7 separate regions of the Homo sapiens genome follow, and regions 1, 3, 4, 5, 6 and 7 are each linked to region 2. The links are contacts of gene promoters, found by promoter capture Hi-C in blood cells and fetal thymus (Javierre and others, 2016). All regions are on one chromosome and are shown on one strand. The core of a region is centred on a gene start or on the middle of the fragment in contact, and the rest is flanking DNA. Distances in the headings are between cores, read along the strand shown.

Evidence for each region. Contacts are between HindIII fragments. The CHiCAGO score rates a contact against its expected background, and 5 or more counts as called.
Region 1: a contact is called between a fragment that was not itself captured here and the fragment with the promoter of IRS2 in region 2, in 6 of 17 cell types (M0 macrophages, M2 macrophages, M1 macrophages and 3 more). The highest score is 13.0, in M0 macrophages.
Region 3: a fragment that was not itself captured here is called in contact with the fragment with the promoter of IRS2 in region 2 in 6 of 17 cell types (M0 macrophages, naive CD4 T cells, M2 macrophages and 3 more); the score reaches 7.5 in M0 macrophages.
Region 4: a contact is called between a fragment that was not itself captured here and the fragment with the promoter of IRS2 in region 2, in 1 of 17 cell types (monocytes). The highest score is 5.2, in monocytes.
Region 5: a fragment that was not itself captured here is called in contact with the fragment with the promoter of IRS2 in region 2 in 1 of 17 cell types (endothelial precursors); the score reaches 5.6 in endothelial precursors.
Region 6: a contact is called between a fragment that was not itself captured here and the fragment with the promoter of IRS2 in region 2, in 1 of 17 cell types (M1 macrophages). The highest score is 5.2, in M1 macrophages.
Region 7: a contact is called between a fragment that was not itself captured here and the fragment with the promoter of IRS2 in region 2, in 3 of 17 cell types (M0 macrophages, M1 macrophages and megakaryocytes). The highest score is 8.0, in M0 macrophages.

What each region holds. Positions count from the first base shown.
Region 1 is chr13:109,149,341-109,153,337 of GRCh38, reverse strand. The region is part of intron 32 of MYO16 (myosin XVI); the gene reads right to left. It overlaps LOC105370356 (a long non-coding RNA gene), which reads left to right. Exons shown (of 5, transcript XR_931717.3): 2 at 1,256-3,570. Among named protein-coding and RNA genes, the nearest start is that of MYO16-AS1, 16 kb to the left of the region's middle. The HindIII fragment of the contact is 5,221 bases long and covers 1-3,997 here.
Region 2 is chr13:109,784,547-109,788,185 of GRCh38, reverse strand. It overlaps IRS2 (insulin receptor substrate 2), which reads left to right and starts at 1,603. Exons shown (of 2, transcript NM_003749.3): 1 at 1,603-3,639. The coding sequence starts at 2,133. It overlaps LOC124903211 (WAS/WASL-interacting protein family member 1-like), which reads right to left and starts at 1,102. Exons shown (of 2, transcript XM_047430835.1): 1 at 741-1,102; 2 at 1-586. The coding sequence starts at 1,093. The coding sequence ends at 349. RefSeq lists silencers at 1,206-1,375, 1,396-1,625 and an enhancer at 2,467-3,096. The HindIII fragment of the contact is 25,501 bases long and covers 1-3,639 here.
Region 3 is chr13:108,969,332-108,973,029 of GRCh38, reverse strand. All of the region lies in intron 20 of MYO16 (myosin XVI), which reads right to left. Among named protein-coding and RNA genes, the nearest start is that of MYO16-AS2, 130 kb to the left of the region's middle. The HindIII fragment of the contact is 8,355 bases long and covers 1-3,698 here.
Region 4 is chr13:109,184,437-109,188,192 of GRCh38, reverse strand. All of the region lies in intron 34 of MYO16 (myosin XVI), which reads right to left. LOC124903207 (a long non-coding RNA gene) reads left to right here. Exons shown (of 2, transcript XR_007063864.1): 2 at 1-3,756. Among named protein-coding and RNA genes, the nearest start is that of MYO16-AS1, 19 kb to the right of the region's middle. The HindIII fragment of the contact is 1,184 bases long and covers 1,593-2,776 here.
Region 5 is chr13:108,985,364-108,989,289 of GRCh38, reverse strand. The region is part of intron 20 of MYO16 (myosin XVI); the gene reads right to left. Among named protein-coding and RNA genes, the nearest start is that of MYO16-AS2, 110 kb to the left of the region's middle. The HindIII fragment of the contact is 4,460 bases long and covers 1-3,926 here.
Region 6 is chr13:109,111,344-109,115,189 of GRCh38, reverse strand. The region is part of intron 28 of MYO16 (myosin XVI); the gene reads right to left. Among named protein-coding and RNA genes, the nearest start is that of MYO16-AS2, 11 kb to the right of the region's middle. The HindIII fragment of the contact is 844 bases long and covers 1,199-2,042 here.
Region 7 is chr13:109,131,914-109,135,657 of GRCh38, reverse strand. The region is part of intron 31 of MYO16 (myosin XVI); the gene reads right to left. Among named protein-coding and RNA genes, the nearest start is that of MYO16-AS2, 32 kb to the right of the region's middle. The HindIII fragment of the contact is 3,529 bases long and covers 1-3,446 here.

The DNA.
Region 1 (3,997 bases), core at 799-3,298, 640 kb after region 2:
CCTTTTACTGTGCAGGATAAGGCACACAGTGGCTTCTAGCACACAAGAGGACAACCTCCTCTTGTTCTGATGCTTTCTCTTTGGAGATTTTGTTTCCTATTTGCCCGTATAAATCCTCCCCTGTAGACCAGTGTTTCAGAGGACATATTTGTGAGCTGAGAAATCAATTTAGTGGGTCATGACACGCACTTTAAAATGAAAGAGAACAGAATACCATGAGTAAAAATGCAGTGTTGAACGAGCGTCATGGATACGTCGTGTTTTGTGAATCCCGAGTAGTATCTCTATGTAAAATGTGAGTCTCGTCCCCTGGATGCGTCGGAGTTTTCAAGTTTCCTTGCCATGGTCTGCTTAAGAGAGAGCCCACATTTCATTTTAAAAATCCATACAATTCCATGCAATGTCTGGCACCAAATAGATTCCTTGGAATAAATGAATGAAGTGTGCCCTTCGTATTTAGTGATTTTTCCGAAACCTTTTTGAAATTTTGAAGCAAACTGCAGATAGTAATAGGAAATACTACTGCTAGTTTTATCATTTTGCCTGAAGTTAACCTCTGATATTTTGTAGCCTAGGAAGAACTACATATCCGGAGGCATGCCATAGGGTAGTTTTCTCACCTGATAAAAGGAACGTTTGTTTCTAAAGCTATTGCAGAGGGTTCCGAAGACATGCTCAATCCCCGCAGAAATGGAAATGTATTCCGATTAGCAGCTGTGCCACATCACCGGGTGTTTTAATGATCATCAGATTAAAAAGACGTTTTTATGATCCCACATCTCCAGATATAAAGCACAGAGCCTCTTTCCTGTGTCACTGTCCCTAACCTCTAAATTAGAGATAACTTCAAGCCTGGGTAAGTGAATGGTGGCGACCCCCTACTAAGCTGCAACTACATCAGTGAAATTAATGTTCACGATTAGAGTTTTACTGTCTGGAATGACATGTAAGTGATTCAACCAGATCTCTAGTTGTGCTAATGTTTATGTGGTGCAAATAGGGTGTGATTAGAAGGAACTAGAACAACACCAAGAGTGTGCTCCTATCTCCGAAATCAAGGTCCCGTAGCTTCTCTTTCCTTAAAGACTGAAATAGTTACTCGAAAGGCAATTTAGCAATTAAAAATCTAAGGGGACTTTGTTACTAAGGGGGCTTTATTACTGGTAATATATACAAAGGTAGTTAAATACCAAGAGACAGAGTCAATCAAATTCTCATAAAAAATTTTAAAAATGTATGCTATTTTGCCTTATAGGATCTGCTGCTGGGCACTGGTTATTTACTTAAGAAAGGATCTGTGAACTGGCAGAAGTACGATGGAGGCCACCTACTTTAAGTTGGTTGTTTGCACTCCTGTATGTCCCCTCCATCCTGCTGTTAAAGCCAGTCTGACCCCCTCCAGCACGTCATCTCGCCTGAGAGCTGAAGTTAAGGGAATGTAACGTCACCAAACGGATGTGGCCTCAGCAAGTAACTTCATAGCTGTGAGCTTTGGTTTGCTTTTTAGTGACATGGAAAGGCCTGTATGGTGAAAGTTTTCACTCATTGCTTTGCCTAAGTCTTCTCATTTTCACTTACTTCTTCCCAGTTTATCCAGCTTTTCACATAAAAGGAAAATAATAAAGCCAAAATCCAAAACATACATATTTTTCAGGGACACACCCTCATGTACCAATTGTGCATATATCACTTCTTCCTGCTTAAAAATGGAGATTTCTTTTGAAGGGTTATGTTTGATTTTGAGCCAGAGTTTTCAGTATGAAGAAGCTCTTTTTGGGCTTTTAGGACTTCAGGTAATGCACAAATTCTCAGGTGTCTCTCGCAGTCAGTGTTCTGCTGTAAATCAGTGCAAGTCTCGGATCTAGTTCATGTCTGACCTTGTTTGGGCTCTGCATAGTTTAGAACTTAGTCATTTGCGTGGAGGAGAGAAATGAATCATATTGTTTATTGTCATAATTAACATGTGTTATTAAATTTGCAAATGGCCACTAATTGCCCATGTACAGGGTCTAAGTATGAAAACTGAAGATTTCAAGGAGAAACCAGGATGGAGTCAGTAAAGGCCTGAGAAGCTCTGCACAGAGTACATGGTGGACGGCTGTGTTGATTCATGGAATGAAGCACTGGGTGAAGTGATATTGAATATAGCTCACTCTCGATGGCGTGAAATTTTGTAGGCTAATCTGGGGATTAATCATAAAAATGACTGAAGTCAGGCATAAGGAGCCTAAACACTGGTAGGTAATTGGGAAATAGGTTTTTCTCTTCCAATACTCTTCAGGAGAGAAAGAGCATGGCACCTGCCCAGTCTCTCTTTAGGACAATATTCCATGCACCATGTTGCTTCTAAGCATTTCTTCACAAAAGGAAGAAAACCCCAGGATATTGTATTATGTGGCAATAATGAGATGCAGATAGTCAGGAAGGTCTTTATTAACTTGCTTAAGGAGAGCTGCTGAGTGGCTTAGAGGATAAAGGGCTGGATTTCTCTTTAGAGCCCCCAGTGGGAGTTTAATTTGCAATCCAGTGTAGAGACACAATATACAATAGCTGCTTGCTTTAGTGGGTTGATAGTATGAAAAATATTTACTGGTTATGAAAGAGAATCCACTTCTGAGAAGTCTGCCTTATTTTCAGAATTTCAGGTGCAATAGATCCTTTCCCCACTGACGGTGCATTATAGAGCATCCCGGTTGTAAAGGCTTCTTTGTTGCATTTGGTTAATCTAAAAAATGATAACCTCTTTACGCTAGATACGTATCTCTGGTCTGACTGACATGCTAGCTGCCGCAGATTTACAGCTAATATGTTAAGGTAATTTCTCAGGACAGTTCATGCAATTCATAGGGTACCTTTTTGATCAGATTGATCTAAATATTTAATAGTCATAACCTTCTGCTTGGTTTTGCTCCTCGGTTTCAAAGAATAATGAAGTGGCATGACCTAGCGGGAACAGCATAGTCACGAGAGCAATGAGCTTTATATTTTCCCAACAAATATTTATTGAGGGGCTGTGAGTATAGCCCTGGCTTTATTTAGTCATGTTTCTCACTTTGCTGTTACCGATGTCGGTTTCTACGTACACATAATTGAGAAAGGAATGGATTTTTGCCTGTTTAAAGAAAGTTGCTGTAGAGACAAACGATGAAGACTTTTTGATTGTCTGTCTTTCCCCTGTTCCAATCATGGTCGCTATTGAGAATCACTGCTGATCATCTGTCTGTACAGTTCTTAGCATGGTTCCTGGTGCTAGGTGAGGGCCCACCACCCATTTAATTTCTGGTGGGTCTGGGGCAGGCATCTGACACCCCACTTATGAGGTTGAAGTCCACATCCCCAGCAAGTCATATGTGTCCTACAAAAAATATGCTGGGCTACTCTGCAAGTGAGTACAATTTCAGTGTGAATTTCTTTTCAGTAATTAGGAACTCAGTCCCAAGTAAAACTTTAAAGAGGCCAAGAAAAAGAGAAACGGAAAGTGAGGAGACACGAGTTTTGGATGTGAGGAATAATCCTAGTCTATCACGTGTGCTGTGCATCCCTGGTACTGCAGAAGGTATTTTATGGCAGGTGGGTAGAAAGGATTTTCCAGGAAAGGGGAGAAAAAGAGGAGGAGAAGGCAGGGGGCACACGAAGAACATGCTCTGTTTCAAAAGTGATGTCTGGTGGGACATTGACAATGGGCAAAACAGTTTTATCTGTCCGCCTCCCACATGTTTTCCTGGCAATGAGTTTGTGTTTAACTTCAGAGGGGAATTCCTTTCTCAAACAGAGACCTTGTATCATTATTTTAATTTTATTGTTTTCAGAGACTATGAAGGGCATAATAGAAAGAATCCAGGGTTTGGAGAAAGGAGATGTGTTTGATTCCTGACTTTGAGACTGATTAGTTTTTGTGATTATGGGAAAATCACTTAATCCCTCAAAGTCTCAGATTGCTCATTAATAAATAGGGATGGTAACACCTGCTTTACCCGCCTCACTGAGACGCAAGGGT
Region 2 (3,639 bases), core at 354-2,853:
TTAAGATACTTCTATGAATTATAGAGGACATCCAAAAGTAAACATCCGGGACTTAAAAACAATAACCAATATTATAAGATAAATTATTGCTGTAAATTATTTCATGAAGGCACAATTAAAAAAAAAATAAAATAAACAGCCAAAGCCTGTTTTGTTGAGTTTTCTTCGTTGCGCAGGATCGGGAGCTTGCTGGGATCTGAACTCAGGAAGCCCTCACCTCACCCTGACTTGGTCATTGAGGAGACGTAATTGCAGGGGTGCTTATTTGCTATAGGCTTTGAAAGTCACAAAAGCCCAGTAGATACATGAATTCGAAGCAGTTCTCCAAGGGCATCTCCAACTTGGCAGTCACCGCCCGCACCGCGCACACAGGTAGTGGACGCCCGCCCACCTGCCCGTCTGCTGGGCGCAGGGCGCTCCTGGGGTGGGGAGGGCGCTCCTGTGGGGGGAAAAGGGGCGCTCCTGCCTCGGAGGGGGAAAGGACGCCCCTGTGGAAGGAAGGGGGGGCTCTTGAAGCGGTGTGGTGAGAGGACGCTTCCGAGGAAGGAAGGGGGTGCTCCTGCAGCGGTGGGGGGAGAGGACGCCCCTGCGGAAGGAAGGCGGCGCTCCTGCGGGGGCTGGAGAGACGCCCGCGCGGTCTCCCGGCTCAGGGACCGCTGGCTCGCGGGTCCGCCCTCTCCCCGGCGCTATGGAAACCGCACTTTCTCCGCCTGCCGTCCCCGATCTCTTTCTCCTATTACCTCCCAAACGCGATTTCAACTTCCCGACAAGCTGACAAGTGAATGGCGCAGAGGACGCCCCGTAAAGCGCCCGCGAGCGGGTGGGACACAGGCGCCCCCTCCGCGCCCCTCTGTCCTCCACGGAAGGGCGCGCGCCGCTCTCGATCTGGAGCGCGGTGCTCGCGAACCCGCGGCCGCGGGCCCTGGAACCTCCCCGCGTTTCGCGGCTGCGGGGGGACGGAGATGCGGCCGGGAGACGGGGACGGGAAACGGGGGACGGGGATGGGGCGCGCCCACCCCGAGCGCGGGAGCGGCCGCCCTCGCCCAAAATGGGGACCCCGCGCCCCGAGAGCACGGCCCGGCTCGCCGCCCATGCTTCCACTGCAAGGCCGCAGCCCCCGCCGCCGATCCCGATCCCCCGCCCCGCCCAGCCGCGGCCCCGCCCGGCGCCCCCTCCCCGGCGGAAGCTCAAGCCCAATTAATTGAGTCCGAGGCGGGAGGGAAGGGCCCTGCGCGCCGTGGCCCGCCCCGCCCCTCTTCCGCGCCCCTTTTCCCGCCCTGGGTGGCATCTCCTCCGCCGGCATCCACAACAAGCCGCTGATTAATGAGGCCGGGGCCGCCCCACCCCGCCCGGCCGGGCCGGGGCCTTCGCGGGAGGGGGAGGGGACGGCGGGAAACGCGGCCCGGGGAGAAAGGGGGGCGGGGCGGGGGCGCGCGGCCCGCCCCCGCGAGCGCCGCGCCGATTGGCCGAGCGCGCCGTCCGTCGGGGGGCGCGGCGCCAATGCGAGGCAGCGGGGCGGGGCGGCCGCGCTGTGTGTGCCTGCGTAACGCCGAGTCACATGTTGTTTTGCTCTTCTTAGTTCAGTCACTCGGTGCGCGATGTGTTACTCACTGTGCGGCGGGGACCGCGACGAGCCCGGGTCGCCGTTGGCAGCAGCAGCAGCAACACCAGCAGCAGCAGCAGCCCCGGCGGCGGCGCGGACCCCGAGCGCCCGGGCGCACCCCGGCTTCCCGGAGCGCGACGCGGCGGCAGCAGCCCCGGTGCGGCCGCGCGCGCCTTAGGCTCGGCCCCGCGGCTCGGGGACCCCGACTCCCGGCCCAGCGAGCGCGTCCCCCGGCGCCGCCCGAGAGCCCGAGGAGGCAGCGGCCGCAGGCAGCCGGGGAGGGGGGCGGCCACCGCCCGCGCCGGGCATCCTCAGGAGCCCCAGAGCGCGGAGGGCGCGGCGCCGCCGAGCGGTGCTGGCCCCCGCGGGCCTCCCCGGACCTTCCCCACCGCCTGGGCCCGAGGGACGCGTGATCGGGCGGGCGGCCGGGCGCAAGGGTGGGAGGGAGCCGCCCCCGCCCGCGCCCCCTCCGCCCCTCGCCCCAACCCCTGGGCGCCGGGCCCGGGCCGCGCGGCCTGAAGCGCCCGCGATGGCGAGCCCGCCGCGGCACGGGCCGCCCGGGCCGGCGAGCGGAGACGGCCCCAACCTCAACAACAACAACAACAACAACAACCACAGCGTGCGCAAGTGCGGCTACCTGCGCAAGCAGAAGCATGGCCACAAGCGCTTCTTCGTGCTGCGCGGACCCGGCGCGGGCGGCGACGAGGCGACGGCGGGCGGGGGGTCGGCGCCGCAACCGCCGCGGCTCGAGTACTACGAGAGCGAGAAAAAGTGGCGGAGCAAGGCAGGCGCGCCGAAACGGGTGATCGCTCTCGACTGCTGCCTGAACATCAACAAGCGCGCCGACGCCAAGCACAAGTACCTGATCGCCCTCTACACCAAGGACGAGTACTTCGCCGTGGCCGCCGAGAACGAGCAGGAGCAGGAGGGCTGGTACCGCGCGCTCACCGACCTGGTCAGCGAGGGCCGCGCGGCCGCCGGAGACGCGCCCCCCGCCGCCGCGCCCGCCGCGTCCTGCAGCGCCTCCCTGCCCGGCGCCCTGGGCGGCTCTGCCGGCGCCGCCGGGGCCGAGGACAGCTACGGGCTGGTGGCTCCCGCCACGGCCGCCTACCGTGAGGTGTGGCAGGTGAACCTGAAGCCCAAGGGTCTGGGCCAGAGCAAGAACCTGACGGGGGTGTACCGTCTGTGCCTGTCTGCGCGCACCATCGGCTTCGTGAAGCTCAACTGCGAGCAGCCGTCGGTGACGCTGCAGCTCATGAACATCCGCCGCTGCGGCCACTCGGACAGCTTCTTCTTCATCGAGGTGGGCCGCTCGGCCGTCACAGGCCCCGGCGAGCTGTGGATGCAGGCGGACGACTCGGTGGTGGCGCAGAACATCCACGAGACCATCCTGGAGGCCATGAAGGCGCTCAAGGAGCTCTTCGAGTTCCGGCCGCGCAGTAAGAGCCAATCGTCGGGGTCGTCGGCCACGCACCCCATCAGCGTCCCCGGCGCGCGCCGCCACCACCACCTGGTCAACCTGCCCCCCAGCCAGACGGGCCTGGTGCGCCGCTCGCGCACCGACAGCCTGGCCGCCACCCCGCCGGCGGCCAAGTGCAGCTCGTGCCGGGTGCGCACCGCCAGCGAGGGCGACGGCGGCGCGGCGGCGGGAGCGGCGGCCGCGGGCGCCAGGCCGGTGTCGGTGGCTGGGAGCCCCCTGAGCCCCGGGCCGGTGCGCGCGCCCCTGAGCCGCTCGCACACCCTGAGCGGCGGCTGCGGCGGCCGCGGGAGCAAGGTGGCGCTGCTGCCGGCAGGGGGCGCGCTGCAACACAGCCGCTCCATGTCCATGCCCGTGGCGCACTCGCCGCCCGCCGCCACCAGCCCCGGCTCCCTGTCGTCCAGCAGCGGCCACGGCTCGGGCTCCTACCCGCCGCCGCCCGGCCCGCACCCGCCTCTGCCGCATCCGCTGCACCACGGCCCCGGCCAGCGGCCCTCCAGCGGCAGCGCCTCCGCCTCGGGCTCCCCCAGCGACCCCGGCTTCATGTCCCTGGACGAGT
Region 3 (3,698 bases), core at 789-3,288, 820 kb after region 2:
GCTCCATGGGATCCCCATCTCTACAGAGCACCTGTCCGCTGTTCCCAATATCTTCCCCATCTCAGCATGCCAGTTCCTTCGTTCAGGCACTGCGTGAGCCCCTGTCCACTGGCAGGACCTTGTGTCATTCCGTATCTTATTTTTCTTAAAAGAAAAAAACCAAAAAACAAAAAAAGAAAACCCACAAAAAATCCCTACCGTTTAGGAAATATCATTGTTTCTAACCCATGTGGACCTTATTTTTGCAATACTAAAAAACCACAAACCACTCTGGACCCTAGACAGGCATGTTACAAACATGTCAGACCTGTGCCCTAAGAGAAAGAGTGGCAGTTGAGCAATGCAAATCGATGATCCTCGCTTACTACAAGTCACACCCGAGCAAAACACTAAAAAACAATGCCCCTATCTCTAATAGTGTTCTGTGAATCCTGATATATCTATTTCCCAAGAACAAAATATCTCCCTTATCTGCTACTCTGTGAAACAAAAAGATCACGAGTGAAATGTAAAAGGAAGACTGGGCTGCATCTTGGGTGTCCACCATGTGAGTCATCTGCATTGTTTTCTACAACTCTCCCCTTCCCCATAAATAAGCTAATATAAACTAAGATGCTTTCTTACCAGCCACTATATATATATATATATATATATATATATATATATATATATATATATGGCTATATATATATATATATAGATGGCTATATATATACACACATACATATAGTGATGGCTGTGGCTGGTAAATATATATATATATATATATATATATATATAGAGAGAGAGAGAGAGAGAGAGAGAGAGAGAGAGAGAGAGAGAGACAGGGTCTCAGTCTGTCATCCAGGCTGGAGTGGAGTGGTGCAATCATGACTCACTGCAGACTCACCGTCCTGGGCTGAAGCAATTCTCCCACCTCAGCAGTTCCCAAGTAGCTGGGACCACAGGTATGTACCATCACACCTGGCTAACTTTTTTGTATTTTTTTGGGGGGTGGGGTAGAGATGGGGTTTCACCATGTTGCCTAACATGGTCTCAAACACCTAAGTGATCCACCCACCTCAGCCTTCCAAAATGCTGGGATTACAGGCATGAGCCACCACGCCTAGCCCCATCACTATTATCATTACAGCCACCATTCCCATTGTGTCAGATACTCTCCTAACAACTTAATATGCACCACCTCATTTAACCTTCAAATAACCCTGAAAAATAAACAAGTTTTTGTAACCTGGGTGTCAAAGAAACAGGCTTGGATAACCAAATAACTAACTCATGAGAAATCAATGCGATTAATCATAATATTTTTAAATGTTTATGTTTAGGTCAACTAAAATACTATAAGAATGTAATATAAGAATTCATAAGAAACCAAAGGCTTAGTGAAAAAATGATCTCCATATATATGTTAGAAACTCAACTTATTTTAATGTATTAATATACATAATATTTAACATTATTAATAATATATTAGTCCAGTTATGCTGCCCAAAAAAGTGGATGTCATATCAAGTTGACAAGAATGAATGAATGAATAAAAGTATACTCAAATAACCCTCTATAGGATTACTGTAGACTAGATAGATAGAGAGATGACTGATAGATAGATAGACAGATATAGATAATATATCCACATACATGTAGATTATATGTGTATATATATATATATATATATATATAATCAACACACACACACCATTTTATTCAGAACTGATGTTGAAATAAATGATAGGTTTTGATGTTTGAAGGCATTTGGAGAACACTCCAAAGTTTCTATAACCCTGTACTTGCCCAAACTTCTATGTGCTTGCAAAACCCTGAAGAAGGATTCAAATGAGGAAAAACAATAATTTTAAATTTAACATTGAATTTAACATTTGCTAATTCAATCTTGGGGATGTAAGTGCTGCGTTATAAAATAGGCCCAATTTTAGAGCTTGCAAAAATTATTGATCTTTTTTTAAAACAGTTATTTTTCATTATACTTTAGTAGCTCCAATCATGTATCTCATTTCAGAATCCTATGGATGATATCCTTTATAAAAATTAAATACACTTTAGATCATGGACTTTGTTTATAAAAAGTGAGCAACTGGAGTGTGTACAACTCCTCAAGACACTTTCCCATTCTTTAGCCCCTCTCTACCTTCAACCCCAAGAATTCTTGTCTAAGAGGCACACTTGGGAAAGTGTGGGGCCTCAACCTATTAGCCAGGTGAACCTGAGTCTGAAGGGTTGCCCTGGACTATCGGAGGGGGTGGGAGCAACCAGCACACACACATGCATTTCACACGTCTTGAGGATTGCAGGGAAAGGAATCCCAGTGATGACAATTTATGAGGATTTGAAGAGAAAGGGTCAGTGACAGCCATGTTCGTGGCCAGGAAAGCCTTAAGATGTCAATCAGCAAGTCCAGAAATCCCTCACCTCCTTGTTCCTGTCCCTATTTTACCTCGACACTGGGGTGCGGCAGCCCAGGAGCATGACAGCTGCCCCCGCAGGCCTTGCCTGTGGGAGAGGGAGGGGAACTCTCACCTTTGAACATACTTAATTTCTGCTCCAATGCTGGCTATTTCAGGATTAAAGCGTCCATAGAACTGTGATTTATTTAAAAGTGACCAGAAAAGTCTCGGGACCTGATTAAGTTTTATCTCAGAGTCAGAAAAATATTACCCCCATTGAATAAATGTGAAAAGGAGGTGGGACATTAGAAAACATGTTTTCATTATACCACAAGTCATGCTTTTTTAATAGCGTTACACCAAAACAAGTGAGAATGGTTTCATATAATGGTTAATTTGGTTACACTGAAATAAGTATAAGGCAACTCAGTTTGAAAAGTTGTGAACAATTCTGCCTATAATGTTGACCACCATAAAACAGACACATTTCTGGCAGCCACCATAATATTATCCATAATGCTGCCCTTTCAGATCAACAGTAATTTTAACGTGTTCCCCCAGCTATCTGGTTCAAAGGTTTGCAATTTTCTTAAGCAAAAGAATGGCAAATACTTAATGGAAGCCTTTCAATATTACATTAGAAACAGCCAGCTAGTATCACAAAATGGAAAAGGGTTTCTTCAGTAATGAGGCAAAACAGACCATGAAAGAGGAGAAGTGTTAAGAAAATTCTACACCAAATCCTCTCTGTCTCACAAGGTGTGTTCTTAAGATGATGCTCTAAATCACAGTGGTGAAACCCTGGGTAGAAACCTATTCAGAGCTATAGAAAAAAAAATATTTAACAATCCGCAGTTCTCGATGTGATTGCTGTAGTCGGGCAGAGAGGTGATTGAGCTCATTTGGGAAGCCCTACAATGGTGCTGTTTGCCTCTCAAACGTGCTAACACTGTAAAAGAAGCCCTGGCAACCTCACAATTCCTAAAAAGAATGAGCAGAGCATGGCTTTGGTCTGGGTGGAATTCATGAAACACCCGAGTGGAGGTGATGCCTCCTTGGGGAGAATGGCTGTTATCTGTGGGAAGAGAGGGCCACACGCCTTTGGATCCACTGGGGGAAAAGTGGACAGTGAAGAGAGTGGAATGGAAGATCCATGGCATCCCTGTTCATCAGTGGGTGCCAATTTTCTATATGTGAAATTATGGGAATCTATGTATGGGTTCTCCAAATGGTTTAAACAAGGACTTTGTTAATACCTTCGGTGGTCATTGGGTGTCAGCTGACAATTCACAGAGA
Region 4 (3,756 bases), core at 935-3,434, 600 kb after region 2:
AAAAAATATACCTTGCAGACAATGAACAAAATAATGGAGTGGCTATATTAATTTCAGACAAAGTAGACTTAAGACAAAGAAATACAAATAAAAAATGAAATTGTATAATGATGAATAGATCTTCACCAAAAAAGATGCAATAATTTTAAAAGTCTTTGTATCTCAAATATAGCTTCCAAATGCATGAGGCAAAAACTGATGAAACCGAAAGGTGTGGACAAAGCCACAGTATAGTTGGAGACTTCTGTGCTCTTCTCTCAGGAATAGATGAAAAATGAACACAGAAAGCCAGCAGAGACATGGATGTGGACACAAGTAACCAACCAGACCTAATCCACACTTCCAGAAGACTCCACCCAATGGAAGCAGAATACATATTTTTGTTGAAGTGCCCAAGGAAATTTCAGCCAGACAGGTCATATCCTGGGCCATAAAAACATTTTAGTACATTTAAGAGAACTGAAATCATACAAGGCATACCCTCAGATCATAGGGGAATTAAACTAGAATTCAGCAGCAGAAAGGTACCTGGAAAACCCCAAATACTTGGAAAGCATCAGTATTAGCCAAAGAGAAAGTCCCATGGGAAATTAGAAAATATTTTGAACTGAATGAAAATGGAAACAAAACAAATTAAGATTTGTGGGATGCAGCTATTACAGTGTTGAGATGGAAATTTACAACTCTATTAAATGCTTTTATTAGGAAGAAAAGAAACACTTCAAGTCAGTGATCTATGCTACCTATTTAAGAAAGCAGAAATAGAGAAAATTAAGCCCAAAGCAAGCAAAAGAAAAGAAAATAAAAAACAACAGGAATCAATAAAACAGTAAAACAATAGAGAAAATCAATGAAATCAAAAGCTACTTTAAAAAAATCAATAGAATTGATAGACTTCTAGCTAAACCGACCAAGAAAACACAATAAGCAAAATGTTTGCCATGCATGAAACTGGCAAGGAATATTATCCAGAATATGTGGAAAATTCCTAACATCATCAAGAAAATCATGCAAACAAGTTGGGAAATAAGAAAAGGATGTATTTGGATTAACAAGTCTGAGAATATGTGAAAATACTGCTTGGCAACCAGGAAATAAAATAAAACCACAATAAGATCCATTTTACATTTATCATATTGGCAAAAATTAAATGAATAATTAAACCAAGTGTTTACCAGGAGAGATGGAAAACTTTACTCCCTTTTAGAAGTACATACATTGGTTTAACCTTTTAGGGGAGTAATTTGGTAATAACCACTACAGTTGAAAATGTCCATGAGCAGAAACTTAGCACTTCCATTTCTAGGGGAATCTTGGGCAATTTTTTTGTTTCCCCCAGTTGTAAGTTAGAGGCATTTTCAGTGATGTTAATTGTAGCATGGCTTGTAACATTGATAACTTGGAAATGATTTTGATGTAAGTTTTCCACTCACTTTGGTCAAACTGTAAACATGTTCTTAAGAAATGCCATGACCACATTTATATGGAACTTGTTTCTCAGAAAAGTTTCCAATGAAGGAGGCATGTTTGCACCTAAAAAGCAATATGATTGTGTGTGTTTGTGTGTGTGTGTGTGTGTGTGTTGAAAAGCTTATAGAGGCACTGGCCAGAATGTATGCTCACTTCCTTGGGTGCTGTAACTTCTAGCCCTCTAGTGAAGTTGTAAACTACAATATGACCTGCATATTGGCACTGAGCACAGAGCATCATCGATCTCCCTGCACCTTTCATGGAGATCACTGAATTAGGTTTTCTGTGGACCACAACACAACAGACCAGAGGAAAACACCATCTGCCTTGTGCTCATCTGTCCCCCTGAGGCACCACAGCACCCTAGGGCCAGCAGCAGCAGGTCGTGTGACACCTGCCCTTCAGTCCCTAATGCTTTCCTCTCCTCCTGAGCTTGCTCCCTGCCATGCTTGTTGAAGGAATATGAGTATAATTTTGCACTAAGTATGTGTCGGTCATCAATAGTTTCTTATTGTATCGATACCTCAGCCCTAAAGTTGTTTTTTAATTTAATTTTTTTTTGAGACACGGTCTCTGTTGCTTAGGCTGGAATGCAATGGTGTGAAGACAGCTCACTGCAGCCTCAGTCTCCTGAGCTCAAGTGATCCTCTTGCCTCAGCCTCCCAAGTAGCGGGGACTACAGTTGTTAACCCTAAAGTCTGTACATTTCACCTGGAGCTAATTCTTAGAATAAAATAACAAGTGGGAGATGCATGTATCAAAATGGAAAAAAAAGTCCCACCACAGCAAAAACAAGAAGCTGTTTGCAGAATAATCTGTAGAAAGTGAGATTTTTTTTTACACTTTGAAAGCATGAATAGCATTGGTTATTACTTGTGAATATTATATGATTTATGAGTACACCTATGCTCAGTAAAGGTGCAAACATGGATGAAGGGCTACGTGCAAACTTCATTGTGATGATTCACTTCTGGTGTGGTAGGCAGGGATGAGATTGAGAGCTAGGATACATGTTTTTCCAAAAATGTAGCTCTAAAGTAAATAATGCAAAATGTTAAGACTTATTAAAGGTGATGTTTCATTAATCACTGTTTTTTAAGTTTATACTATTCCATAATAAATCATATTTTAAAAATCACACATATAATAGATTTGACCAAAATCCCAGAAAAATATTGGGTTCTCTTGATCCAATCTAATCTCCTCCATATTTTGGATAGCATCTACAATGTTAAAATCAGAACTGGTTTTCAGAATATTGACCCTGCAAAGAAAGGAATACCATAATAACAAGAGCAAGTAAGCTTTTAGCTTTTTTTTTTTTAAGCACCTACAGTATTCCAGGCAGCATCATGCTAGGCATGTTACATATATTTTCTCTAATTGACCCCCAAAATTACTTTTTTGTGCACTTACATGATGAATGATGAATCTGGGATTCTTATCTAGTTCTTTTCTTATTTTCTTCACTTTAAAAACCAATTAAATTAATATTGAAATTGTTGTTACCTAGAATTTATAGTTAGCCAAATGTTTCTAATTACTTTGTTACTCCTCCACTATACAATAATATTGCTAACTGCAGGTTTCCCATCTAGAAGGTGAGCTTGCAGAAATATCACAAGACTTTTTCCTCTTTAAAAATGTAGTCACAGCCAGGTGCGGTGGCTCACTCCTGTAATAACACTTTGGGAGGGAGGGGGGCAAATCATTTGAGGTCAGGAGTTTGAGACCAGCCTGACCAACATGGTGAAACCCCGTCTCTACTGAAAAAAGTATATAAAAAATTAGCCGAGCATGATGGCATGTGCCTGTAGCCCCAGCTACTCAGGAGGCTGAGGCAGGAGAATCGCTTGAACCTGGGAGGTGCAGGTTGCAGTGAGCTGAGATTGTGCCACTGCACTCCAGCCCGGGCAACAGAGTGAGGCTCCATCCATTTCAAAAAAAAAAAGAAAAAAATTAGCCAAGTGTGGTGGCACGCGCCTGTAATCCCAACTACTTGGGAGGCTGAGGCAGAAGAATCACTTGAACCTGGGAGGTGGAGGTTGCAGTGAGCCGAGATTGCGCCACTGAACTCCAGCCTGGGACAGAGGGAGACTATCTCAAACACACACACAAACAAAAAAAAACATAGTCACTACTCTGACTTCTTATTTTCTCAAAATTTATGGCAATTAAATCCTCCTCACTGATAATAAATAGTGTCTTAATCAGAAAAAACTGTGCATTTATATACACTTATGTTGCATTAATAAATACAGTGCAATTTTATGATGGAAAAATACA
Region 5 (3,926 bases), core at 555-3,054, 800 kb after region 2:
TTCATGAACAACATTAATCCCAAAACAAAAGCCAGAAACAAAATGTATACCTTTAGTATTCTTAAAGTATAATTTGAACTATGTCAAATAAACCTAAGCCACAGGAAAAATAAAATCTATGTTAACAGTACCTGTAATAAGATGGTAGACCTGGAGGTGATTTCTTAATTTCTTAAATGTTCTATACTAGTATTATAAGAATATTTATCTTTAACCTCATTTAAAAAATATATTTGGGCATTTTCTAATTTTGTAGAGAAAATTGACACCAATAACCTTAAGGGCAGAGAGGGGATACTAGAGCCCCATCGTGGTAGGAGAAAAGTGTCTGGTTTTGCCAGTGGTAAGAGATGCTGCCGATGCAGGGACAACTTCAGGAATAAGGAGAAAAAGCACTGGGTCTCTCCCCTGAAGGCCGGGTGCTGGTCCCGAGCACAGATGCCTCTCTATCCACTGACATCAGGGTCCCTATGTCAGGCTCTCAGGTCCGATTACCCTCCTTGCTTCCCAGTTGACCTTGGCAGAAGAGACCCTATAATCATGGCATATTGTTTTGATAGAATTTAGGGAAAAGAGCAGCAGAGATCAGTGACACCATGTCACTTCATACCTACCTCCCTCCCTTACAAGGATGGCAAATTGCATCAACACACAGAGAAGAGATTATTTGGCCACTGTGGCATGTGTGGGTGGGCAAAATCATTAAAGGATGGGTTCACATTGGGGAAAGTGAATTATTAATTGGTAATTTAGAGTGGCATACATTTGATTGGAAGGGTATTCCTCCTAAATGCTTTTTTTCACATTTTATAGATACTGAATCCAAACATATTTGGTTTTAAAAAAAAAAGAAAATTCCATTGTCAGGAGAAAAACTAAATGCAAGTTTAAAGCATTTTAAGGACGACTTTTGCAATTACTGACAGGCATAACATGATCATTTAAAATAATTTATTTCATCATTTATGACTGAAATATGCGTCTGTTACTGCAATAGCAACATTGGCAGGATAGTAATAAAAACTTTCAGCCAGCAAAACGCCCATACTACGTAGCAGTTGACCTGACTGTCATTCCCCTTATTGATATCTGACTCCTATTCCACAGGCATTTAACTTAACATTCAATTTCTGACAACTGGGAGCAGAGAGGTCATGTGATCCAGCCAAGACTCAATCCTATAGGCAAAATTAACATATGAATTAGATGATCTGTTTCAGTTCAAATTCTGCCTTAGAATTCTCCCGAGAGCTTTCTTGATAGTTAACAAAACTGTCAGCTTGCATTGACATATTAGTAAAATGCAACACCCTTTACATCAGACAAAATATTAAACGCCAAGACATCAGTCTGGTTTTCATTTTACCTTTTATGTAGATAGATATAGAGTGGAGAAAGGACTGAATTAAAGAGAATGCCTATCTTAGAACACGGGTAAACTCACTTCATCTGAGCAGAACAATCTGATGGTGTGTACAAGGCAGCTTTTGTCCTCAATTATCCTCAGGCAAGGAGATTCCCTAGAGAGTTCTCCAAGTAGTCAGTTTAGGAAGTAGCTTAACCCTGCTTGGCACAAAAACCCTTAGACTGAGTTAGACCAGTAGGACCCCAGATGGGGCAAGAATTAAATATAAACACATTCCAGACGTGAGCAATCTTGTCCAGACTTACTGCCCTTGGGATCAGCTGCACGTACATAGAGGCTAGTGCCAGAAAGTCCCTGGAGATGCCGAGCTATGCTATGGCATTCACCAACTGCCCTGTCAATATGCTGATTTATTCATTTACAAAAAGTTTTGCTTTCCTTAATTGGCCTGATGCCTCGCTGTGGAGGTGAACCCTGCTTAAATCTTACCTTATTTCAACCTCTCAGGGTGTTTTTTAGTCTATGAGAGAAACTTGGGGGGAAGAAGTGGGACTCTAGGATTGCATACTTTTGGGGGTTCCTCTCTTTTATTCTTTGAAGAAAGTACTTGAGACTTCTCACTTTCTGCAACCATGCCAGAAATTATGGAAAGCCTTTGCAATTCTGACAGTTGCACTAGAGGCTGGGAGTAACCAGAGAGGCCGTCCGGCCTTCTCTATTCTATATGGTATTGTACAAACTAGCATCTTCCTAGATGCAGTCATTCCCTGCACCTTTCCCCACAGAAATATATGTTAGGAAGTACAGAACTGCGGACCCCTTGCGAGGAACATTGCAGTTAATTAGACTTAGAGAAAATCCAGGATGTAGGTCAACACTGGAGTCCCGTGCACAAAGCACTGTTAGGAGCATTTAAAAATGCCTCTCCTCATTTAATCCTAGGGAATACTGAGATACAGAATGGTGAAGTAAGCTGCCCCCAAACACAGATGAGTATTAGATAGACCAAGCATTTGAACTTGGCCATCTAGCTGTAGGGCCTGTGTCTGTAAGTTCTATGAAGCTCTGCAGAAAACTATTTCCAATTGGTGGTCTTACACCCGAGTCTAATTCTGTTCTCCTCAGAAACCAAAAAGGGCACTGTCTGCATTTGAGATAAGAAAGTGAGCAGTTCATCAATAACTGTAGTAGTGAGAAGAGTATACATAATAACAGATCAATTATATCCTTCATATTAGTGAAAGCCACACTCAGACTTTAAAAGCCTGAATACTATCTTTTTTTTTTTTTTTTTTTTTTTTGAGACGGAGTTTCGCTCTTGTTGCCCAGGCTGGAGTGCAATAGCACCATCTCGGCTCACCACAACCTCCGCCTCCCGGGTTCAAGTGATTTTCCTGCCTCAGCCTCCTGAGTAGCTGGGATTAAAAGCATGTGCCACCACACACAGCTAATTTTGTTTTTTTAGTAGAGACAGAGTTTCTCCATGTTGGCCAGGCTGGTCTCAAACTCCTGACCTCAGGTGATCCATCCACCTCAGCCTCCCTTAAGTGCTGGGATTACAGCCATGAGCCACCATGCCCAGACTACATCTTAGTCTTTATGGAGATTACATGTATAAAAATATACTGAACTTTACACATAACGTGCACTGTAGCTATGTTCTACCTTGATATGGTTTGGCTGTGTTCCCACCCAAATCTCATCTTGAACTGTAGCTCCCATAATCCCCATGTGTCATGGGAAGGACCCCTTGGGAGGTAATCGAATCATGGGGACAGATTTTTCTCACGATAATCTCATGATAGTGAATAAGTCTCACGAGATCTGATGGTTTTATAAAAGGTGGTTCCTTTTGCACACGCTCTCTTGCCTGCTGCCATGTAAGATGTGCCTCTGCTCCTCCTTCGCCTTCTGCCATGATTGTGAGGCCTCCCTAGCCATGTGGAACTGTGAGTCCATTAAACCTCTTTTTCTTAATAAATTACCCAGTCTCGGGTATGTCTTTATCAGCAGCGTGAAAACAGACTAATACATACGTCAATAAAACAGTAGAAAACAAACAAACAAAATGTATGCTCACTTGGATCACAACTATGCACTGTGATAGATTATTAGATAAATATTTGTTAAATGAGAAGCACTTAAATGCAGATTCATTTTGGCAATGCCAAATCAAACACGATGTTAGAATAGTGAAATTATTACGGTTGGCTCTGGCTACTACAAGAAGCTCAAGCATCATCTATCAGTAGAAAGATATCAGCAAGGAAGCAAATTACCAGCAAGATGTTTGAGTGGCCCAGAACTTCAGGAAGAACTGAAAATACATTCTTCATGAAGTTAAATACACTGACCGCCGTATTTTTCCCACTAGTGTTTTCACTGATCGTTAAGAGTTATATCTGGTCTCCTCCCACGTCTGCTGACACGTCAGCTACATGCTACGCTGTCAAAGCGGAGGTCCACTTCTTGGGGGTATCTTCAGTATAATGACTTTACTCCTTCCCACAAAAACGATAAATACTTCCTTGTGTTCAACCAATTATGTGGATGTGAGTCA
Region 6 (3,846 bases), core at 371-2,870, 670 kb after region 2:
GAGTGTAGGTGGCACGGAAGCTGTGTTAGTAGAGACTTCAAGGGAACCTGTAGAGCACTTCTTTTTTTTTAAAAGACAATTTTTAGGAGTGCTGAGTGTTTCTGGCAGTACTTTTGAAATAGCATTTACAAAGGAAAAATATAGCTATTATCCTTTGATATTTTTCTATGATGCACATTTCTCTCTATATTAATGAAATTGAGAAAAACATCTAATGTAGAACTCTTCTTACATATTGGTAGTTTAGAAAAATAGTGACGCCTCTCATTTTGTTATATCTATGCATTCTTTGGGAGTTGAAGAGGCATATATTATTTGTATTGTATGTGTCACTTAATTTAGTTTACTCATTTACTGCTACTAAAAAATACAATCAGTAATTGTTTCCCATGCAGGTAAAGTAAAGGAGAAAGCTCAGGTCACATGGTTCTGCTTTGACAGAAGAAGGACACGTCAATTAAAACAACATAAAACACTTCAGTTACTTATGGAGACATAGAAAATTGGATAGAATTTATTTCGGAATAATAGTACAATTTCCTCTAAGGAAATGTGCACTTGTGATATCCACAATAGACTACACTAGTAGGATTAATAATCTACAAAGGAGGTGCAAAGAAACAGAGTGCCCATAACCCACACTGTTCTAGTTAGATCTCAGAAATCATCTTGATCAACCTCTTCAGTTTTCAAGAGAAAAAGGTATGTTTTAGAGAGGACGTATGACATTCACACAGTCCACACAGAAAGTTAGTGCCAGAGATAAGATGAATCGGAGCTCTCTAGGCTCCAGACTAAAAGAAGCACACACCCTTGATCCTATAAAGTCTCAAACTGAAAAATGCATATTAATCGCTTGGGATCTTGTCAAAATGTAGATTCTGTTCCAGTGGGTTGGGATGGGGCCAGTGATTCATTCTGCATTTCTAACACATTCCTAAATGATGTCGGTGACGGTGGTCTGTGGACCACATTTTCAGGAGTAAGACCCTGGGTCACTCTCTTTTCTTGAAGCTTAACTTCTTTGACAAGCTCACCTGGTCCCCTGCTCTGTGTGTCTGTCATCTCTGTTCCAATGTTTGTCCAAAGCTGCTATGTTGCTGCTCCCCAGTGAAAAGTTAGCTATCCTCAGAGTTCTTCACTGAATTCTCCTCTTACTTTTCATCATCTTCCTGGTAAGTTCATTATTCCAAAAGCTTTCAATACAGACTGCTCGTGAGAGCTCATCTTATCCCCGAGTCCATACCTATGGAGCCCATCTCCTTGTGCACACATTTATGTCGATGTTTCATAGGCACCCTAGCCTCACTCATATGTTTCCATCTTATCCTGGATTCTCTAGCTCAGTGACCAAAAGGACCATCTACCTGGGTGTTCCCTGAGCACCTCAAGCCCTAAAGATTTCCACAGGTCATTTCTCCCACACTTTCCCATCTCATCCATCCCTACCCACTCTTGCCTTTCTAGGCTAATGGAGTCGTCATCACCTCATCACCCAAGCCAGAACCCCAAGCATCACCTAAGTATGTTTACAGCTTTTCTCCCAGTCCCCATTTAGTCATAAGTTCTATTGAGGTTTCTAGAACCCACTTCCTGTTTACTTCTATGAATAATTTCAGTAGCTCCATAAATTATCATGGGTCTACATGCGTCCATTTTTTAAACTATATTCAGCGTGATCTTTCTAAATATCAATCTCATTATGTTCCTTTCTTGTCTAAAATTATTTAGTGGCCTGTAATGATTTTCAGGATGATGTTCAAATGCCTTTGAAAGGTTTATTAGACTTTTTTATTGTATGGCCCTTTTAGTCTCCTCCCTCCCTTCCTCCCTCTCTTCCTTCCTTCTTTTCCTTCCTTCCTCCCTTCCTTCTTCCTCTCTCCATCCCTCCCTCCCTCACCTTCCCTCTAAAATTTGCGGTAAGAACACTTAGCCTGATATCTAGCCTCTTAATAAAATTTTAAGCATATAATGCAGTGTTGTTAAATAGCAGTGAAATGTTGTATAGTAGGCTTCTAGAACTTATTCAATACATTCAAGCTTACTTACTCTCCAACTATATCATATTGCTTTCTGATCCAAAGTGGGAATTCATTTTTCTCCTGTTTAGTGTGTATCTTATAATAATAAATCAATTACAGTAGTACATCCATGTCACTAGTGTACCTTGTATACATCTCTACAGTAGCACTGAAGTCCTGGTTTTCTTCTTATTTGTGTATCTGTCTGACTATTCAACTTAACTGTGAGATATTTATAAGCTCAGATAATGTTGGAAAAGTATAAAGCTCATAATTCACATGTATTAAGGTGAAGGAAATGAAAGTAAATGGATGTGTACAATGGAGAAGGCAGAATTTTAAAAAATGCTTTGAATAAGCACTTGCTATAACATGACCTCAGATATTTAAAATTTCATTTGTCTACAAAAATTATTTTTTTTTTGGCAGAGTTTCGCCCAGGCTGGAGTGCAATGGCATGATCTCGGCTCACCACAACCTCCTTCTCCCAGGTTCAAGCAATTCTCCTGCTTCAGCCTCCTGAGTAGCTGGGATTACAGGCATGCGCCACCGTGCCTGGCTAATTTTGTATTTTTAGTGGAAACAGGGTTTCTCCATGTTGGTCAGGCTGGTCTCGAACTCCTGACCCCAGGTGAACCACCTGCCTCGGCCTCCCAAAGTGCTAGGATTATAGGCATGAGCCACCATGCCCGGCCATCAAAAATTAAATCTTAAATATTTTCAACTTATTTAAACTATTTGATTTATTTTATTAAAATACATCTAATAGGATTAAAGAAACAAAGATGCTGAGTTTCATATTTCCAGTGCCATCACCTCTGATATAGGATTATTACCGACTAAAATCTAGAATTTAACTCATCATCTCTCCTTTATCTGCTTTTTAACTCACCTTGCACACTGACTTCAATTTATTGGTCTTCTAGAAACTTCAATGATTTTATGTTGCCTATAAAGCCCTCCATAATATGAGCTAACCCTTTTTTATTTCTCTAAAAGAGATGCTATTTACTATTATTTTAGCTTCCCGTATACTCTCCTGAAGCAGAAAACCAATGTGAACCTTCTTTATATATTGTACAGGGCCCATAGCATTCTTATGAATGGAGTTTTCACTGAATAATATCATTACTGTTGTCAGGATTGGGTTAGATGCTATCCCTTTATTTTTAAGTCTACAATCGGCCGGGCATGGAGGCTCATGCCTGTAATCCCAGCACTTTGGGAGGCCGAGGTGGGTGGATCATGAGGTCAGGAGATTGAGACCATCCTGGCTAACATGGTGAAACCCTGTCTCTACTAAAAATACAAAAAATTAGCCGGGCGTGGTGGCACGTGCCTGTAGTCCCAGCTACTTGGGAGGCTGAGGCAGGAGAATTGCTTGAACCTGGGAGGCGGAGGTTGCAGTGAGCTGAGATTGTGCCACTGCACTCCAGCCTGGGCAACAGAGCAAGACTCCGTCTCAAAAAAAAAAAAAAGTCTACAATCATTGGAATATTTTATTAACATAGATTATATTTTAATGAGAAAGGTCTTACTGTGAATGCTAGCTTCTTTTCTGCAATTAAAATGCTTCATTTTCATACAAAATTAATCTTTAAAAATGTTAACCCCTCTTGCTCTAAAAACAGCCCTAGTCTAGTAAATACTTCCAGCTTTTTCAAAGGATATGTACTATCGTAGTTGCATCAAAAGTAGTCACATCTTTCACATATCAGTATTCTGGAAAAATGCCCTAGTATTTTTTAAAGTGCCCAGCAATGTAAATCTGTTCCCAGTTTGTTAAGAATAGCTTTATTGATGGTGATATGAACAACACAATCTT
Region 7 (3,744 bases), core at 433-2,932, 650 kb after region 2:
GAGGTGCAATGTGAGCCTGCAGTCCCAATTGCTCCAGAAGCTGAACAAGAGAATCACTTCAGGCTAGGAGCTCAAGGCTGCAGTGCGTTATGCTCATACCTGTGAATAGCCACTGCACTCCAGCTTGGACAACATAGCAAGACCTCACCTCTAAACAACAGCAACAACACAACCCTGATAAGGAAGAAGCAGGCTGAAAAAACTACTAGCCCCAAACATAAGTCACCTCTTGTGGATTGGGAATTATTAGTCAAAAAGTGGGGAACCAAGATTCCAGAACATAGACCTAAGAGCTACGGAAAATTATTTCCAGCCTGGGAACTGGACTAAATCCTCATGAAGGCATAAGCAACATGCATCCAGCTCTTGTTCATCCTCATGAAGGCATAAGCAACATGCATCCAGCTCTTGTTCACAACTGCTACCCACCAATGACCACTGTGTGTCGCCTGATCTCCCTCCTGTGTCTGAGCAGAAGCATGCATCAGTTATTCTCTACCTGTCCCTCTGATGCATTTTGCTTGTGTGGGGGGATCAGGCAACTTGTCTTTTTAGGCCACAAGTCTTCAGTTAGAAGAGGACACACTTGAGGCGCTGTCTCTCTCAGGAATCGTACCGGAGGCACCGGCACATGTGGATCTGGTTTAGACGATGCGATCTGGCCCTTGAACCTGAGCCAGATGAGATGATGAAGGAGGCTTTGGGGAGTCTGGGGTAGGGGTGAGTATAGTTTGTATGACAGAGGGATACAAATTGTTTTGTCCAGAGGGTGGACTGATACAGATGGTACTTTCCAACACCTTGGCCACCACAGTATATCCTTTCCAGAGGTAGAATCTGTTTCTCCTTTCCTAAACCTGGTTTGGTGTTTGGGACTGAGGTGATGGAAGGAACGTGGCAGAAGGGAGTTTGCTCACCTCCCAAAACTGGCTCCCTGAAAGCGATGCTGCATCTACTGCTTTCTCTCTCCCAAAGCACATGCCCCTGAAGCACTGACTCTCCCTGTAAGAAGTTGGATACCCTGAAGCTGTCATGCTGCCCAGGCAATGCAGAGAGACCACACAGACAGAGAGAGACACCCAAGGAGTCACAGTCCTCAGATGGCTGAGGCACCAGACATGCCCGTGACCAGCTTTCAGATGATTCCAGCCACCTTGCTGCATGAAGGACCGAGAGTGACAACTGCTCCAGTGATCTCTGTTGACACCCAGAGCCTGAGAGGGATAGTAAAACAATCACTACTTTATGTAAACCTGTAAGTTCTGGGTGGGTTGTTATGCAAAAACACATAACTGGTACAGTATTCCCTCAAAGTTTGATTCAGATGCGGTGAAGAGCCTTTTTGCATTAAACAATTATAAATAAAAGTAGCATGTTTGTTGGGAGGCTGTTGAGAACCTGACTCAAGGGTCCAAACTTGCCTATGTGACACAGGACAAGTTACACCATTGATCAGTGACTTAATGCCCTTCTCTACATAGGGTCATGATGACAGTCCTACTAGGTAGGGCTATTCTACAGATGAAAGATACTTAGCTTAATGCCTGCACATGATAAACATCACTAAGTATCCATCATGATCGACATTATCACCGCTACACAACCAGAAACTTACTGTGAGAGATAGAACTGTTCCTTAAAGTGTGGTCTGGGGTTCAGTAACATCAGATGACTAGAGTGCATTATCCTGTTCTACTCCATAACAATTAAAATGGAACCTCTGGGGGTCAGAACTGGAAATATTCATTCTTTATAAACTGAAATTAGAAAACCACAGTTAACAAATTAAAGTCTAATTTGGTTTGTGGCTACTTCCGGGTGTGTGTGCATGTGTACACGTGCTAAAAGTTCATTTGCAAATACTGGTTAGAGGGTTATTAAAAATGAATTTACATCAAGAGTTTTCTTATTTTTTTGTTCTAATATTGATGCATAAAATGTTTGCAACTACTTGATAAAGTCAATGAGATGAAGTAGGGAAGACAGTCCATGATCACAGAATACTTTTAGGGCAGGTTCTGGGATCCTAACAGTAGCTTAGGAGTTAGACTACATTCTGAAGCCATCTCATTACATCATAAAGTTGCCTCTTATCTGAACTGCTGCAGAATGATACGGACATGTGTGTCACGTTAGGAGATCAACATTTTCTCCTACAAAGTATTTTCCATTTGGTATTTTTGCTAAGGCATGTCGGTGACTTTTAAGTCATCTTCTGTGCATAAGTTATTTGGTCCCATTCTCACAAGAACAAAATACCTGCATAGTTAATCTATGAGAAAAAGGAGGAATGAGATGCTTGTTCATCCAAAATAAACAGTGTCTGCGTGTGTAACTCTCCTCCATTTTCCAACACTTCTAGTGTGGTTGTGCTAGTTTCAGAGCGAAAGCAAACATAGCACAGAGCACAGGACCTAGGACAAAAAAGATGCTTAATTAAGTGCCTGCTAGCTGACTGCTGAGGCTGCGTACATGAGTGGATGTAGGATAGATTTACAACCAGCTGCAAAATGGACAGAAAGGACTTCTACTGAGCTGTCATATGTCGCAACTTTGTTATAACTTTTCTTTCCTGGTGGGAGGAGCGGTTCAGGCAATACCATTGCCTTCCATGCCCCCATCTTTTACCCTCTTGACTGCACTACTGCACTCGATGCTGTTGGCATGCCCTTCCTGAGCCTTTCGCAGTTTCCACGGAGGGCAAGGCACTCTGTGGCCCAGTGTGCACCCATCACGTCCTCACTGCTGTGGTTGTGCTTCCCCTATAATTTGTTTGACCACTTATCTCTCCTACTGGTCTGTCAGATCCTCGGGGAGAATCCAGGCTCATGGAAGACACTTAATTACTATTTGTTGGATGTACAACTGCGTCATAGGTGGTGAACTGTGCAATTGTGTTCTGTTATTCCCAGTAACACATTTCTCAGAAGAGCAACACAGAAGACCTAATTTCTGTCCATTTAAAATTTTTTTAAAGGGCTTCTGTTAAAAATATGCAGACAAATCTAGCCTTGACACATTTCAAGGGTACTTCTCGAACCTTGCCAAATTGTGCTCCCTCTCATATACCGATAGGAAGCAAATTCTCTTTTAATGAAGAGAGTGTAGAGAAATAGATTTCTGTAACATGTATTCACTTGGTAAGTATTTGATGAGTGCTTACTATGTGACACATGTTGTTCTAGAATGAAGACAGAAACAAGAGAGTAAAGAAAAGACATATTATTTCCAAATTAAGCCACAGAGCTGAGCCATGATTGTGTCTACACATGTAAACTGTGTTTTGTGGAGAATGCAGTTGTACAGCAATTTTGGAAAAAACAATTATGGTTTCATTAAGGTATGATCCCCAAGGAGGGGACAGCTGGAGTCTGAAGGGAGGGTGAGTGTGGAAGCATCAACATAGAACGGTGAACAGTGAGGACTAGAGCTGCCTGAGAAAAGCTTGCTTCTGCAATTTCACCTTGAGCAACCGTCACTCCAAGCCAGGCACAGCACCACTGACATCATGACTTAATTGCAAGTCCCACATCTTAGGATTTAGTATCCATTTCACAGATGAGGAAACTGACTGTCAGAGGCTTCATTAACAACAAAGTTATATGCATGTAACTTTGCTGTGCGCTTGCTACGTCCTGGGCAATGAGGCTTTACAGTCCTTTGCTTCTTAACTCCCCAGAAATAGCCCTTGCCATGTCTCGGCTGTTGCTGCTACTTGACATACATGGGCTTGGAAAGACTGAG